Regions from separate parts of the Homo sapiens genome. Here region 1 is linked to region 2. The links are contacts of gene promoters, found by promoter capture Hi-C in human tissues and cell types (Jung and others, 2019). All regions are on one chromosome and are shown on one strand. Each heading gives the region's core, a stretch centred on a gene start or on the middle of the fragment in contact. The rest is flanking DNA. Distances are from core to core; before and after follow the strand shown. Region 1 has its middle 28 kb from the start of CTRB2. Region 2 holds the start of LDHD (lactate dehydrogenase D).

Evidence for each region. Contacts are between HindIII fragments. The study calls those that stand out against the background at their distance.
Region 1: a contact is called between a fragment that was not itself captured here and the fragment with the promoter of LDHD in region 2, in 1 of the 25 tissues and cell types used here (heart left ventricle).

The regions. Positions count from the first base shown.
Region 1 is chr16:75,177,150-75,180,968 of GRCh38, reverse strand. No RefSeq gene overlaps it. Among named protein-coding and RNA genes, the nearest start is that of CTRB2, 28 kb to the left of the region's middle. The HindIII fragment of the contact is 3,256 bases long and covers 1-2,899 here.
Region 2 is chr16:75,115,248-75,118,972 of GRCh38, reverse strand. It overlaps LDHD (lactate dehydrogenase D), which reads left to right and starts at 2,193. Exons shown (of 11, transcript NM_194436.3): 1 at 2,193-2,324; 2 at 3,313-3,425; 3 at 3,634-3,725. The coding sequence starts at 2,253. RefSeq lists an enhancer at 2,668-2,962. The HindIII fragment of the contact is 8,282 bases long and covers 1-3,725 here.

The DNA.
Region 1 (3,819 bases), core at 22-2,521, 63 kb before region 2:
ACTCACTCTGTTGCCCAGGCTGGAGTGCAGTGGCTCCATCTTGGCTCACTGCAACCTCTGCCTCCCAGGTTCAAGCAATTCTCCTGCCTCAGTCTCCCAAGTAGCTGGAATTACAGGGCTGCACCACCACACCTGGCTAATTTTTGTATTTTTAGTAGAGACAGGGTTCCGCCATGTTGGCCAGGCTGGTATTGAACTCCTAACCTCAAGTGATCCGCCTGCCTTGGACTCCCAAGGGACTGGGATTACAGGTGTTAGCCACTGTGCCCAGCCAGATAAAAAGCTTCCAACTGTTCACTATTAAGTATGTTAGCTGTGGGCTTGTCATATATGGCCTGCCTTGTGCTGAGGTACATTCTTTCTATATCTATTTTGAGAGTTTTTATTATGAAAAGATGTTGAGTTTTGTCAAATGCTTTTTCTGCATCTATTAAGGTGATCAGAATAGATTTTGTCCTTCATACTGTTAATGTGGTAGATCACATTTATAGACTTGTGTATGTTGAAACATCCTTACATCCCTGGGATAGATCCCACTTGATCATAGTGAATTGTCTTTCAATGTGCTGTTGAATTTGGTTTGCTGGTATTTTGTTGAGGGTTTTTGCATCTATGTTCATCAGGGATACTGGCCTGTAATTTTTTTTTTTCTTCCAGTGCCCTTGTCTGGCTTTGGTATCAGGGTAATGCTGGCTTCATAAAATAAGTTTGAAGGTGTTCCCCCTTGTTCAATTTTTTTGGATGAGTTTGAAAAGAATTGGTATTAGTTCTTTAAATGTTAAGTAGAACTCAGTACTGACACCATTAAGTCCTGCGCTTTTCTTTGATGGATTTGTAATTCAGCCTCTTACTGAGTTTGTTGTTGATGTTGTTTTTGAAATGGAGTCTCATTCTGTCACCCAGGCTAGAGTGCAATGGCACAATCTTGGCTCACTGCAACCTCTGCCTCCCGGGTTCAAATGATTCTCCCTGCCTCAGTCTCCCAAGTAGCTGGGATTACAGATGCCCGCCACCATGCCCGGCTAATTTTTGTATTTTTGGTAGAGACAGGGTTTCGTCATGTTGGCCAGGCTGGTCTTGAACTCCTGACCTCAGGTAATCCGCCTACCTCAGCCTCCCAAAGTGCTGGGATTACAGGCATGAGCCACTGTGCCTGGCCTTTTCCCCACCCACCCCCCCTACCCGAGTCTCACTCTATTGCCCAGACTGGAGTGCAGTGTGCGATCTCGGTTCACTGCAACCTCTGCCTCCTGGGTTCAAGCAATTCTCCTGCCTCAGCCTCCAAAGTAGGGGGGATTACAGTTGCCCGCCACCACGCCTGGCTAATTTTTGTATTTTTAGTAGTGATGGGGTTTCACCATCTTGCCCAGGCTGGTCTCAAACTCCTGACCTCAAGTAATCCACCCGCCTCGGCCTCCCAAAGTGCTGGGATTGCAGGCGTGAGTCACCACGCCCAGCCTATTGGTTTTTCTGTTTCTTCATGATTCAGTGTTGGTAGTTTGTATGTGTTTAGGAATTTATCCGTTTCTTCTAGGTTCTCTAATTTGTTGATGTATAATTGTTCATGGTATTCTAATCCTTCGTATTTCTGTGGTATCAGTTGTAACACTTCAGCTTTCATTTCTGATTTTGAGTTGTCTTTTTTCTTACTCTACCTAAAAGTTTTCCAATTTTATCTTAAAAAATTCTTAAGGTTTTTTTCCTGTTGTCTTTTTCTAAGAAATGAATGAATAAATCCATGAATAATTTATTTCTGTTCTGATATTTTCTTCTAACTTTGGGCTGCTTTTTCTAGTTCTTTGAGGTATAGCATTATTTGTTCTCTTTTGATATAGGCATTTATTGCTATAAACATCTCTTAGAACTGCTTTTAGTGAATCCTATAAATTTTTTTTTTTTTTTTTTTGAGATGCAGTCTCCCTCTGTTACCCAGGCCGGAGTGCAGTGGTGCGATCTCAGCTCACTGCATGAATCCCATAAATTTTGGTATGTTGTGTTTCTGTTTTCATTAGTCTCAAGACTTTTTTTTTTTTTTTTTTTTTTTTTTTTGGAGACCAAGTCTCACTCTGTCACCCAGGCTGGAGTGCAGTGGCGCGATGTTGGCTCACTACAACCTCTGCCTCCCATGTTCAAGCAATTCTCCTGTCTCAGCCTCCCAACTAGCTGGGATTACAGGCATGTGTCAGGCACGCCGGGCAATTTTTTGTACTTTTTTATTTTTTAGTAGAGATGAAGTTTCACCGTGTTAGCCAGGATGGTCTCTATCTCCTGACCTCGTGATCCACCCGCCTCAGCCTCCCAAAGTGCTGGGATAACAAGCGTGAGCCACCGCGCCCAGCCTGTCTCAAGATGTTTTTAAATTTCTTATCTGACCCACTGATTAGGAGCATGTTGTTTAATTTCCACATATTCGTGCATTTTTCAAAATTCTTCCTATTACTGATTTCTATTTTTATACCACTGTGGTAGGAAAAAAATACTTGATATAATCTTAAATTTAAGATTTGTTTTGTGGCCTAATATACATCCTATCCTAGAGAAGTTCCTTGTGTGCTTGAGAAGAATGTGTATGCTGCTGCTATTGGATGGAAATTCTGTGTATGTCTCTTAGGTCCATTTGGTCTAAGCTGTAGTTTACATCTCCTTACTGATTCTGTCTGGATGATCTGTCTGTTGCTGAAAGTAGGGTATTGAAGTCTTCTACTGATATTATGTTACAGTCTCTCTCTCTCCCTTCAGGTCTATTAATATTTGCTTTATATATTTAGGTGCTCAGATGTTGAATGTATATAAATTTAGAGGTATATCTTCTTGATAAATTGACACGTTTGTCATATAATGACCTTTGTGTCACAATTTTTGACTTAAAATCTAGTTTATCTGATTTAAGTATAGCTATCCCTACTCTTTCGGTTTCCATTTCCATGGAATACTTTTTCCATCCTTTCACTTTCAGTATATATATGACCTTAAAGGTGAAGTGAGTTTCTTATAGGCAGCATATAAATGGGTCTTCAAAAATTTTACTCAGCCACTCTTTTAACCAAGGAATTTAATCCATTTGTATTTAAGGTAATTACTGATAGCCAAGGGCCCACTATTGCCATTTTGTTAATTGCTTCTTTCCTAGATCCTTTGTTCCTTTCTTTCCCTTTTGCTTTCTTACTTGTAATGACGTGATTTTCTTTGGTGGTATGCTTTGATTTCTTTTTTAAAATCTTTTGTGTATCTACTATAGATTTTTTGCTTTGTGGTTAGCATAAGGCTTACAGAAAATATAGTTATCATAGGATATTTTAAGTAGATAACAACTTTGATTGTAAACCAAACTACATGTTCTCTACCCCTTTCCACATTTTATGTTTTTAATGTCACAATTTACATCTTTTTATAGTGTGTATCCCTCAACATTTTATAGCTATTATTTGTTGATTAGTTTTTTTGAGACAAAGTTTCTTTCTGTCACCCAGGCTGAAGTGCAGTAGCACAATCTTGGCTCACTGCAACCTCCACCTCCTGGGTTCAAGCAATTCTCCTGTCTCAGCCTCCCAAGTAACTGGGATTACAGGCATGCACCACCATGCACAGCTAATTTTTGTATTTTTAGTAGAGACAGCGTTTCACCATGTTGCCAAGCTGGTCTTGAACTCCTGACCTCAAGTTATCTGCCCGCCTTGGCCTCCCACAAGTGCTGGGATAACAGGCATGAGCCACCGTGCCCAGTTCCCTTTAGTATTTCTTGAAAGATAGGTCTGGTGGTAATGAACTTCCTCAGCTTTGGTTTGTCTAGCAAAGTTCTTATTGCTCCTTTATTTCAGG
Region 2 (3,725 bases), core at 944-3,443:
GTAGATAAGAGACAAATGTTTGCATTCTTTTGAGTTTCTAATTATCCTCTCAAAAGGAGGCAATCAGATATGCATTTAGCTCAGTGATCAGAGGGGTGACTTTGAAAGAATGGGAGGCAGGTTTGCCTTAAGCAGTTCCCAGCTTGACTTTTCCCTTTAGCTTAGTAATTTTGGGGGCTCAAGATATTTCCCTTTCAGACCTCTTCAGTAGAATTCTTTCTTCTGATGAGGCAAGCATTGAGTTTTATGTAGACCTGTATGGATTTCCCACCACTCACATGAAGACCATGACCTGTGACACATTCCCTGGAGGTCCTGAGAACATGTACCCAAGGCAGTTGAGTTACAACTGGTTTTATACAGTTTAGGGAGGCATCAGACAGTAATCAATATAAGCAGGGTATGCATTGGTTCCTTCTGATTGAGGGAGGAGCTTACAGGTCATAGGTGAATTCAAAGACTTTTCTGATTGGCGCTGGGCACGGTGGCTCACACTTGTAATCCCAGCATTTTGGGGAGCCAAGGCGGGTGGATCACTTGAGGTCAGGAGTTCGAGACCAGCCTGGACCAACATGGTGAAACCCTGTCTCTATTAAAAATACAAAAATTAGCTGGGCATGGTGGCACTCCTGTAATCCCAGCTACTTGGGAGGCTGAGGCATGAGAACAGCTTGAACCCAGGAGATGGAGGTTGTAGTGAGCTGAGATCACGCCACTGCCTGAGCAACAGAGTGAGACTCCATCTCAAAAAAAAAAAAAAATTTCTGATTTTCAATTGGTTGAAAGAAGTTATTATCCAAAGACTTGGAATCTTGGTATACAACAACAAAATTTTTTTTAAATAAAAAATTTTAAAAAAGACAACCTGGAATCAATAGAAATAAGCATCTGGGTTAAGATAAGGAGTTGTGGAGACCAAGGTTCTTTTTTTTTGAGACAGAGTCTCGCTCTGTCGCCAGGCTGGAGTGCCGTGGTGCGATCTCAGCTCACTGCAACCTCCACCTCCTGGGTTCAAGCGATTCTCCTGCCTCAGCCTCCCAAGTAGCTGAGACTACAGGCGTGTACCACCATGCCCAGCTAATTTTTGTATTTTTAGTAGAAACGGGGTTTCACCATGTTGGCCAAGAGGGTCTCTATCTCTTGACCTCGTGATCCTCCCACTTTGGCCTCCCAAAGTGCTGGCATTACAGATGTGAGCCGCTGCACCCGGCCCAAGGTTCTTATTATGTAACATAGATGGTAAATGTCTAAGGCGTTAAAAGGTGCCAGACTCTTAGTTAAATCTCCCTTAGATCAGGATAAAACCTGGAAAGAGGCTGGACGCGGTGGCTCATGCCTGTAATCCCAGCACTTTGGGAGGCCAAGGCAGGTGGATCACGAGGTCAGGAGTTCAAGACCAGCCTGGCCAAGATGGTGAAACCCTGTCTCTACTAAAAATAGAAAAATTATCTGGGCACAGTGGCAGGCACCTGTAATCCCAGCTACTTGGGAGGCTGAGGCAGGAGAATCGCTTGAACCCAGTGGGTGGAGGTTGCAGCACGCTACTGCACTCCAGCCTGGGCCACAGAGTGACTCTGTCTCAAAACAAAACAAAACAAAACAAAAAACCTGGAAAGGGGAGGGGATTCTCTACAGATTCTAGATTTTCCCCACAAAAGACAGCTTTTTGGAGCTATTTAAAAAAAAAATCAGAGGAATATATTTTGGGGGTAAAATACATTGATTTCTTTCAGGGCCTGCTATCTGTCAGGTGATGCTAGAGTCAGGTTGGAATTTGGTATCTTATTGCTACAAAGAGTCTGTTTTGTGTCTTAAGATCAGAATGCCTTAAGGTCTCTGTTTTAATGTTAATGCTGGTCAGTTGTGTCTGAATTCTAAAGGAAGGAGGGGGATAATGAGGCTTGTCCTAAACCTCTTCCCATCACAGCCTGAATTAATTTTTCAGGTTTATTTTGGAATGCCCTGGGCTGAGAGGGAGGTCCATTCAGTCGGTTGGGAGGCTTAGAATTTTATTTTTGCCTTACAGTTTCCCAAAACGTCCAGTGAACCTCGCCTCTCCTTTAGAAGTGTCGTCCCTGGAGCCCACGAAAATGTCTGCAAGATCTGCAAGGGCCACCTTAAAGCCCGTGCCACCTTAAGCAGGCCCCACCCCTGGCCTAGCCAATGGGCTGACAGCAGCAGTAGCTGCTGCCACAGTAGCTGACTGGTCACCCTGCCACCCAGTGCTCACACCCTCTGGCCAGTGCCTGGCTATGGCCCGACTGCTCAGGTCTGCAACCTGGGAGCTGTTCCCCTGGAGGGGCTACTGCTCCCAGAAGGCAAAGGTACCGGGAGAGAAGAGAAGTCCTCTGGAGGGATGAGGTGGGGAGCGGGGAGCAGGGGGTTCTGATCCCAAGTTTCCTGGGCTCTGTGACGCCCCAGCACCAAGTGACCTGACCTTGGGCAAAAGGGCACTGGGCTTACCCTGTGGCAACTGTGGGTGGGTGTAGAGTGAGATCAGCTGAGTCCCCACTGCTACCATGAGTGGGGCTGGGGGAGTCAAATGGATGCCCCTGGAATAAAACACACCTGTGGAAGAAGGCCCTGAAGGAAAGGGCCTGGGTTCCAGGCCAGGCTCTGTCCTTAACTTGGCCTCCATTTCTCATCTGTAAAATGGGAAGAAACACATCCCCCGCCCCGCCGCGCCCCGCCCCCCACGAAGGGCCCAGAAGCCCCAGGCAACGTAGAGTGGGGAGGGGGCAGTGGAAGCTTTTCCTCCCCCTAATTCCCTTATCAAGCTCTGAGTTCCCTGTGGCTGGGGTGGTGCTTGGTTGGCCCTGGAGAAAGGAGGAAGTGAGGGATCTTTTCGGTTGCTCAGGCTGGGCTGGCTATTGAAGGAACCCTGCTGATAGCCTTTTTGGAGAGTGAATTCTGGTTTTTTATTTGGATGGCTGGGCGCTGTGGCTCACGCCTGTAACCCCAGCACTTTGGGAGGCCGAGGCAGGTGGATCGCTTGAGCCCAGGAGTTTGAAACCATCCTGGGCAACATAGTAAGACCCTGTTTTTATTAAAAAAGAAAACATTAAAAAAATTCTGGTGGCGTTTTTTTCTGAGGGGAAACTTTGACCCCCAATGGCTCTGTTTGGAAAAGAGGCATTTCTGGATAGTGGGTTTGTTTAAAGTGGGCCCACCTGGCAAGGATGTTGTCAGCGGGGCGGGCGCAGGGGAGGCTCACTCCAGCCTCCAGCCCCCAGCCCTCCCCCCGACACTGGGGCAGGGCTGTGGCCCCATGTGTCTTTCGGGGGACCCTGGCAGTGTGTTTCTTCCCTGCAGGGAGAGCTCTGCAGGGACTTCGTAGAGGCTCTGAAGGCCGTGGTGGGCGGCTCCCACGTGTCCACTGCCGCGGTGGTCCGAGAGCAGCACGGGCGCGATGAGTCGGTGCACAGGTATGGGAGGGTTCGCGGGCCCCTCCCCTGTCTTCTGGATTCAACCCCAGCTGAGAGAGAGGGTGCTGGGTTGCCTTCCTCCTCACTCATCTGTTTTGGGGTGCTCTGGCATGTTCTCTGCCCCTCGCTTGCTGTAGCCTCAGGCCCTGCAACACCTCGGGACCAGAGGGTGTCACGCCCCGCTAAATCGCTGAGGGTCTGGTTCTAGGTGCGAACCTCCTGATGCTGTGGTGTGGCCCCAGAACGTGGAGCAGGTCAGCCGGCTGGCAGCCCTGTGCTATCGCCAAGGTGTGCCCATCA